2 separate regions of the Homo sapiens genome follow, and region 2 is linked to region 1. The links are contacts of gene promoters, found by promoter capture Hi-C in human tissues and cell types (Jung and others, 2019). All regions are on one chromosome and are shown on one strand. Each heading gives the region's core, a stretch centred on a gene start or on the middle of the fragment in contact. The rest is flanking DNA. Distances are from core to core; before and after follow the strand shown.

What was found. Contacts are between HindIII fragments. The study calls those that stand out against the background at their distance.
Region 2: a contact is called between a fragment that was not itself captured here and the fragment with the promoter of NECAP1 in region 1, in 4 of the 25 tissues and cell types used here (H1 embryonic stem cells, hippocampus, mesendoderm cells and 1 more).

The regions. Positions count from the first base shown.
Region 1 is chr12:8,079,974-8,084,775 of GRCh38, reverse strand. It overlaps NECAP1 (NECAP endocytosis associated 1), which reads right to left and starts at 2,502. Exons shown (of 8, transcript NM_015509.4): 1 at 2,393-2,502. The coding sequence starts at 2,487. RefSeq lists enhancers at 2,260-2,319, 2,390-2,609, 2,041-3,240. The HindIII fragment of the contact is 7,640 bases long and covers 1,151-4,802 here.
Region 2 is chr12:7,640,592-7,645,393 of GRCh38, reverse strand. No RefSeq gene overlaps it. Among named protein-coding and RNA genes, the nearest start is that of APOBEC1, 23 kb to the left of the region's middle. The HindIII fragment of the contact is 4,378 bases long and covers 1-4,238 here.

The sequences.
Region 1 (4,802 bases), core at 1,253-3,752:
ACAGTCTAGCCTGGAGAAAAAAGGAGACTAAACAATCCATTGTACAATCCACTGTAATCCATTACAATACAAAATGAAGAGCCCTGGAATAGAGATAAGAATAAAGTGCTATGCAGGAACAGAAAACCAAACACCACATGTTCTCACTCACAAGTGGGAGTTGAACAGTGAGAACGCATGGGCACAGGGAGGGGAACAACACACACTGGGGCCTCTCGGGGGAGGGGCGAGGATGACAGGTTGATAGGTGCAGCAAACCACCATGGCACATGCATACCTATGTAACAAACCTGCACATTCTGCACATGTATCCCAGAACTTAAAGTAAAAAAGAAAAAGAAAAAGGTGCTATGGAAGCACACAGGGTGCATATCTAAACCAGAATGGAAGGGTCACATAGGGCCTCCCAAAGAAGGTGATGTTTAAGTGACTCATATAGTACCTGTAACTACCATCTAAAAGCATGTTGATTTCTACTTAGGGTCAGTTTGGGGTCCAACTAAAAGCTTATTAAAAACAGAACTGCTACCTCTTTGCCAAAGGTGCAACCCACAGGGCCCAGCGCACAGGTCAGCAAGCATAAAAATATTGATTCATGATGAATAAAACGCCAGTAAGGGGCAAAATAACAGACATAAGGAGAGGGTAACTTTTCAGCCAAGGTAATGATAAATGCCAGGAGGAAAAATCACAATGATGATGTGGGTCAGAGAGAAGAATAAGAACAGTATCTTGGCCAGGTGCAGTGGCCCACACCTGTAATTTCAACACTTTGGGAGGCTGTGGCAGGAGAATCACTTAAGGCCAGGAGTTCGAGACCAGCCTGGGAAATATATCAAGATCCTGTCTACACAAAAAAATTTAAAAATTAGCCAGGCATTGTGAGGCAATGCCTGTAGCCCTAGCAACTTGGGAGGCTGAGGTAGGAGGATCCCTTGTGCCCAGGAGTACACAGCTGCCGTGAGCTGTGATTGCACCACTTGCACTCCAGCCTGGATGATAGAACGAGACCCTGCCTCTCTAACAAAAAAAAAAAAAAAAAAAAACGACGGCTGGGCGTGGTGTCACGCCTGTAATCCCAGTACTATGGGAGGCCAAGGTGGGCAGATCACAAGGTCAGGAGTTCAAGACCAGCCTGGCCAACTTGGTGAAACCCCATCTCTACTCAAAATACAAAAATTAGCCAGGTGTGGTGGTGCATGCGTGTAATCCCAACTATTCAGGAAGCTGAAGCAGGAGAATCGCTTGAACCCAGGAGGCGGAGGTTGCAGTGAGCTGAGATTGAGCCATTGCGCTCCGGCCTGGGCAACAAAGTGAGACTACATCTCAAAAAAAAAAAAAAAAAAAAAAAAAAGAACAAACAAATAGTATTTGTAACTGCTTTATTGCATTTCCTACATTCTTTCACATCCATTATATGATTTAATTTTACTCTCCCAAAAACCCTTGTTAAGCACATTATAAGAGCGCAGGTATCATCACTAACAGGTTTTTTTTTCTATTTTACAGATGAGAAAATTGAGGCTTGGAAAGGGCTCACACTCATATGGTTTAACATGAAGCCCAGTGAACTGTCTTTCAACTACATAATGTCCTATAGCATCCTCAGAACCTCACAGTCATTGGATTACAAGGTAGGTAGTTAGGCCCAACAGAGAAAAATGCTGCCTCAACTTTGGAGGGAAAAGGTGTAGGAGAGGTTAAGAAGGGAGGTAGGGAAGGAAGACAGAAAATACTATATAATCATCAAGAAAATACAATGAGAAGAAACAGAATGAACAACCGTTGTAAAGCTTATGATCATAACCTTTGCTCACTGGTAAAACTGCTGAAGGAAAAACCGAATGGTGGATGATGACAGTTGGTGACGAAATTGACAACAGTACAAAAAATAAATCAGATAATCCAGAGTGGCAAGCAACACGATTACCCATAAATGTGCATGGGGAACTGGAAAGGTGTGTGTGTGTGTGTGTGTGTGTGTGTGTGTGTGTGTGTGTGAGAGAGAGAGAGAGAGAAAGGATGAGGATGATAAGCTGAAGGACGCAGGGAAGAGCGAATGAAAGGGGACTGGCAATGGAGCAAGCACGACTGAAAGTGCATGATGGGGAGCAGATGGGTGCCCCAGGGGATTACGGGAGAGGCAGAGTGGAATAACGCAGAGTGGTAATTTAATAAAAAACAAAACAAAAAAAAAAACGGCAGAAATATGGTGATGACAGTCCAGAGTGGAGATGGAGCAGGTGGTCAGGGAGATGACAACCCAGGTAGGGAGGCTAGCAAGGTGACAATACAGAGGTAGTAGTGGCAGGGACGGACAGCGTGCTAGCTGAGAAGGAAGCTGTCATCTGCGACAGAGTACGCGTGTGCGGCAGCGCCTCGGGGTTAGTACCTGTAACCGCGGTTGGAGGCCCGGGGCGGAATCCGGTAGACGCTGACGTCTGGCTTCACACACAGCACAGACTCGTACTCCAACTCGGTCGCCATCTTGGGTCCGCTGTCGGCGCTGCCGGGGGCGAAACGTAAGACCGGAGGCGGAGCACGGGAGGCGGAGATGCAAAGCGCGACAACTTCTGTTGCGTCACTTCCGCGCGAGTTCAAGTTAGTTTCTGAGATTAACCTTTTCGGTGACGCGGGGAGCCATATTGAAACCTGGAAACGATGAGGCTGCACGGCTCACCGTCTTGGATAATGGCAAAGATGGCCTGCAAGTGCGTGACTCTCGTTATGGAAATCTCTGTCCTGGAGAGGTGCTTACGAAAAGCGCCATCTTACTCTAGGCAGGTGCCTGGAGTGTCCTACGAGGACGAGGACCATATTGAATCGTGACGGATTTTCTTACAGGAGTCACTTCCTAACTGTAGTCTCCTGGCAGAAAAGAGGCAACCTCCAGCCGGTAGTCCCAGACGAGGTACCTGCAGAGAATGATGTATGATCTGGTCATAGACACCGTGGATTTCAACTCTCCAGAGTCTAAACGCTGAAAACACCCAACTTGATTTAGTGCCTTACACTCTTTATCTCCGATTTTTCAGGACGACACCTGTTAAAATGTTTTGCCACACTTTCGGCGTGTATTCCGATTATCTTTTTGGAAAATTTGATCCTGTTAAATAGACTATACGTGGGATCAACCCAATTCCTGATAAAATCGGAAGCATAATGAACTATCTAATGGCCTATATTAGCTCCCAGTTCTATTATAATGATAAATGCTACCGAACTCTCACCATAAATATGCTTTTTCTGCGCCCCAAAGGTAAACTTAACCACAACACCCTGACAGTACAGATAGCAAGTGGCAAAACTGAGACAGAAACTCAAGCCTGCCTCATTACAACAGCAGCAGTCTTCACCGCTGCTGGAGCTGGCAAGGTCACCAAGTCTGCCCAGAAAGCTCAGAAGGCTAGATGAATATCATCCCTAATACCTGCCACCCCACTCTTAATCAGTGGTGGAAGAACGGTCTCAGAACTGTTTGTTTCAACTGGCCATTTAAGTTCAGTAGTAAAAGACTGGTTAATGAAAACAATGCATCGTAAAACCTTCAGAAGGAAAGGAGAATGTTTTGTGGACCACTGGTTTTCTTCTTCAGAAGGAAAGGAGAATGTTTTGTGGACCACTGGTTTTCTTTTTTGCGTGTGGCAGTTTTAAGTTATTAGTTTTTTAAATCAGTACTTTTTAATGGAAACATCCAAAAATTTGTCACAGAATTTTGAGACCCATTAAAAAAGTTTAATGAGAAAAAAAAAAAAAGCAAACCTGCCTCTAATTTGTCTGCTCCACCTTGGAAAGTGATATCTTAAATTTCAAAAAGAATTACCACATTTATCCCTGGCGAGGACGTGAGGAACAGTCTAATCTCATACACTGTTGGCAGGAATGTAAATTGGCACGGCATTTTTAAAAGGGAAATTAACAGAATTTATCAAAATATTAATTGGACGTAATCTTCAATTTAGCAGTTTCACTAATAAATATTGTAGAGAAATCCTTATATGCACAAAAAAGTATGTACAATAATACTACAGCATTGTTTGTAATAGTGAAAAAAATGGAAACAAAATGACCATCTATCAATGGGAAATGGTTAATGGTATATCTATTACTATGAGATGTTTTGAACTAAAGGGTTAGCCATTGAAAGAGATCCAAGATTTTTTAAAGCCAACTGCAAAAAACATACAGCATTATCAACTTTTGTCGAAACACCCCAAAATTATATATGCATGCATGTAAATGCATTGAGAAGGCTTTCAAAGGATATAAGGCTAAGTGGGGGAAAGAAACTTATTTTCTCCTCCATATATTTCTCTGTTGTTTAAGATTTATATAGCTATTATTGTCACTGAATACATGTTAAAAGAAAAATAAAGACAGAAAAGTGGTTTATTACTTGTTGTTCCTTATTTCTGACCCTATGATCTCATCTGAAGCCTAGGTCATATGACTACACCACATTGTACCTCTTTTTTTTTCTCTGTTCTGTGTTATCACTGGCAATCATTTTTGGAGGATTCTGGCTTCTGGTTCACCTTCTTACTAGTTTATACTCTTCCTCTTCTCCCAAATCTTTTAGAGATTTCAAAGCCCATATAGTTAACTCTTCCTAGCCATACAATCTCTTGACATAAATTCTAACTATCTTTACCTCTCTTTTCTACCTCACCTGTTCTTCTTCATGTTCTGCACATTGTTAGCCTTCTCTTTATTCCTCCCATCTCCTTGTTTCAACAGTTCTCTTGCCAGCATCCTTAAGTTTCCTTTCCTCTTTGTCTTTCCATCACAGCCAACCCAAAAGA
Region 2 (4,802 bases), core at 800-3,299, 440 kb after region 1:
TTAGCATTAATCTTGGCAATTCCTTTCCTTTAATTAGTAAATTCTTTTGTGACTTTCACAGACCCTCTTACAACATACTCAAACTCTCTGACTTGTCCTAAACATCCTTCCTGTAAACAACCAGTCATTTCCTTTTAGGACAAGAATTTACCATACACAATCCTTCCTTATATAAAATCTTTCTTTATAAACTTCTTTTAATAGTTTAGAATGCATCCTATTACCAACTTTCAGTAAAAAGTCATATCAAACTTAATGATAGTAAAACTTTTATACTTTCATGCTTGCTTTTTTTCTTTTTTTGATATGGAGTTTCGCTCTTGTTGTCCAAGCTGGAGCGCAATGGCACGATCTCAGCTCACCACAACCTCCTCCTCCCAGGTTCAAGCAATTCTCCTGCCTCAGCCTCCCGAGTAGCTGGGATTACAGGCATGCGCCACCACACCTGTCTAATTTTGTATTTTTTAGTAGAGATGGGGTTTCTTCATGTTGGTCAGGCTGGTCTCGAACTCCCGACCTCAGGTGATCCACCTGCCTCGGCCTCCCAAAGTGCTGAGATTACAGGCATGAGCCATCGCGCCCGGCCTTATGCTTGCTTCTTATCCATAACTATCACTCCTGCTATAAGCAAAATAACCTTGACTAAATCTTTCCTGCAATTATTAATCCTAAGATAAGGAAGATAATCAGGCAAAATATTATAACAATTAGAATTTTACAACCAAAATTCCGCATTGTGGGTGCCACGGTGTATAGTTCCATCGCAAATAGTGGTGTAACTATAACATTTCCCACAAGAGTGGCATAGTAAATAATTTTCGTTTAAGTCTTTACTTGCCTAGATATAACATTTCCCTTTGGGGATCTACAAAGTTACAAATGCAATCCCATGTATAATTAAATCTCGCTGCAAATATGCCTTAAAAGGAATTTTAATATTTGGTGGCAGATTTTGAGAGGAAAGGCAGAAATAATAAAAAGTACCCGATGAGGTAGGAGTAGCCCTCACTCAGTTACTTATCTTTTATGATTTTCAGTTTAAGATCTTCTATTTCTCCACATTGATATTCAGGACGTGCCTCTGGGCTGTCAGAGGTTGATCCCTCAGCTGTTCAGGCTTTGACTTGAATGTGGAAGTCAGGAGTTGATTCCTGTAACTTTTACTGCCAATGGTGTTGAAAGAAGAACAGTGTAGGGCCTTTCCCAGCTTGGCTTAGGGAAGGAGACAGAGATGAGGGTTTTCACTAACACCAAATTTCCTGGGTTAAATAAAGGTGGTTCTGTTTCCTGGGGTTGGACTTCTGTTAGTTGCGTTAATTCTTGTTGGAAGTGAGCTAGAGAGGTTACATGCTTAACCAATTTAGAGGTTTCCTGCCTGAAAACAATCTCTGAGCACACTGATAAGTTTTATCCTTTCCCAAGTGAAAAGCTTGGTGAAGGATTTTAAGGACATTGGCTGGAGGCTGGCAAATGGAGTTTGCCATCCTCTGACTGTAGCCTTTCTGAGGGCTGGGAACTACGTCCTCGAGAAGTGGCCTATTTTATTTCTGCAGGGAAATACTGAGGTTTAATTTTTCTTATGGAGCCTTCCTAGATTAGAAGGGGCTTAAGTGCCTTAACGGCTTGAGGCTTCCTTGCCTCTGACTTAACTGCCTGATCAGCTAACCTATTTCCTTTGGCTACCTCATTTGTTCCCTTTTGATGTTCCTTACAATGCATTCCTGCTATTTCTTGTGGAAGAAAAACTGAAGATAACCTGCTAATTTCCTGGTGATATTTTTATAGGGGATCTATTAATGGTAAGAAAATGTCTTTTCTTTCTTTCTTTCTTTTTGAGACGAAGTCTCGCTCCGTCGCCCAGGCTGGACTGCAGTGGCGCGATCTCGGCTCACTGCAACCTCCACCTCCCAGGTTCACGCCATTCTCGTGTCTCAGCCTCCCAGGTAGGTGGGACTACAGGCGCCTGCCACCACGCCTGGCTAATTTTTTGTATTTTTAGTAGAGACGGGGTTTCACCATGTTAGCCAGGATGGTCTTGATCCCCTGACCTCGTGATCCGCCCGTCTGGCCTCCCAAAGTGTTGGGATTACAGGCGTGAGCCACCGCCTGGCCGAAAATGTCTTTTCTTTCAAATGGCAGCATGAGCATGGAGAACCAAGAAAGCATACTTGGAGTTAGTATAAATGTTAGCTACCTTTCCCTTGCTTAATCCAAGTGTGCTTGTAAAAGCTGTTAGCTCAGCTAATTGAGCGCTTGTGCCTGGGGAGAGACGTTATTTAGAGTGACTACTGCTTATCCTGCCTTATGTACTTCTTGCTTTACTGGCGGTTTGTTGGCTAAGAGCTCCCCCTAGAGGACAGTAATCCTGCCACATTATGTGGGGTGTAAACAGTTAAATTATTTCCTAGGGTTAACTTGGAGGCTTTTCTGATTAGCGAGCTGTCATGATAATGGCTTGGAAGCACGTGTCAACTAAGGTTGAGAAAAATACTGGAGTAGAGTTTTTCCTGAGATGCCCCTTCTGGTTGTGCTATGGGAAGAGGGGAGGCCTGGATTAGAGAGGAGAAAAAAGAGAGACTGGCTGAGTGTTTAGAAAGAGGTCTACTTTCCTTCTTTTAATTTCCAGAATCACTCAGAGCTCCTGTGCTGTAATGGCAGTTTGAGCCGCTGGAGCTGGAGTTTGAGCCCCGGGATCCAGTTCTGCTGGATCATCAGTAAGACTGGTTCTGAACCCAGTGACCTCCACCTCTGGGGGCAGTTCCATCTCCTGTTGTCTCTGCCACAGGCTGGAGAGGGTTGAGGTGGCTTTGTCTTGCTGTATGGGCATTCTTTCTTAACATGCTCTGGCCTGCCACACTGATAGCAACTAGCAGATGCACCTCCGGGATCCTGGACTTTGCAAGCCTGCAAAGCTGCTGCTAGAGTCTCTGTCCTTCTGACCATTGTCTCTTTCTTTTGGGCCTCCTCCTGGTTCCTATTACAAAAGACCAAAGTGGCCACTTTCAGGAAGTTCTCTAAGGTGCTATCTGGTCCTATAGCTTGCTTGTGTAGTTTCCTTTTAATATTGGCAGCTGCCTGTCTAATAAACTTGTCCTTTAGGATGAGCTGTCCCTCGACTGAATCAGGGGATAAGGAGGGGTGTTCTGTTAGTGCCTCTCTCAGCCTTTCCATAAAGGCTACAAGATTCTCATCTGGCTGTTTATCATGGACAGTTTAGAGTAATTGAGAGGTTTGGCCCTGGTTTTCCGTAGGCCCTCTAATGCACACTTAAAAAAGAGCTTCCTTTTCATCTCCTGAGTTATTGGGGTCCCAATTAGGGTTGTCAAGGGAAACTGCTTTCCTCCCAATTGGGAATGGCATTTCTGCTATTTCTTCTCTTTCCTTATCTGCTTTCTTCCCTTTTGGTGTATTATAGGAGATATGTTGCTAATCTCTGAAATCAGAGCTGCCTGCTTTTCAGCTGCAGTGAGGGTCTGACTTAGGAGCAACATAACATCCTTCCATCTGAGGTGAAATACCTGAGTTAAATTTTGGAAAGCTTTTTTTTTGAGACGGAGTCTCACTCTATTGCTAGGCTGGAGTTCAGTGCCGTGATCTTGGCTCACTGCAACCTCCACATCCTGGGTGCAAGCGATTCTCCTGCCTCAGCCTCCCAAGTAGCTGAGATTACAGGCACATGCCACAACGCCCAACTAATTTTTGTATTTTTAGTAGAGACGGGGTTTCACCATGTTGACCAGGATGGTCTCAATCTCTTGACCTCGTGATCTGCCCGCCTCAGCCTCCCAAAGTGTTGGGATTACAGGCGTGAGCCACTGCGCCCAGCCTGGAAAGCTTTTATATACCTATCAGGGTTGTGAGAAAATTGGCTAAGTCTCCCTTTATTACAGGCCTAAGGGGCTGTAACGAGAAGGGAACTTGAAGGGGCCCCCAAAGAAGGGGGATCTTCAGATGGCTCCTCTGGAAGTTGCTTTTCTAATTTTGGGGAATTATTTTCAGTGAGCGTGCCTGATATGATTCCTAAAAGAGCTGGGTTGATCTTACACTGCTTGCAAAGTTTCAGTAAAAATACCATGCCCTTGTGCAAAATAAAATGAGTTGCTCTTCTCTTTAATGTCCTGAGGCTAAGAAAGTTTCAGTGTTTCAGAGTGCACGCCAGAGGGGCACAAACTGAAGATAATCTGTTACCCATCTAGAAAGAAAAGCAATAAAAGTGTCCTTTTAATCTACTTTGATTCCCTATGACCCCCGACGGAGAATAACACAGTGGAGTGTCCTGTTTTCCTTCCCTGGTTCCTGGGACCCTGTTAAATGTGCCACCCACGATTGTAAGCATGGTCCCCCAAGCCATGGGAGCGGATGAACTAAGTGATGGTGTGTCCGGAATGGGTGGGTTCTTGGTCTCACTGACTTCAAAAATGAAGCCGCAGACCCTCACGGTGAGTGTTACAGCTCTTAAGGTGGCGCGTCTGGAGTTTGTTCCTTTTGATGTGCAGGTGTGTTCAGTTTTTTCTTTCTGGTGGGTTCATGGTCTGGCGGGCTCAGGAGTAAAGCTGCAGACCTTTGCGGTCACTGTTACAGCTCTTAAGGCAGCGCGTCGGGAGTTGTTCGTTCCTCCCGGTAGGCTCGTGGTCTCGCAAGCTTTCGTGGTGAGTGCTGTAATTCACAAAAGTAGTATGGACCCCAAGAGCGAAAGAACAAAGCCCCACCAAGGCAGAGAGACACCCGAGCGGGTTACTACTACCAACTCGGGCAGCCTGCTTTTATTCTCTTATCTGGCCCCCCCCCAACCACATCCTGCT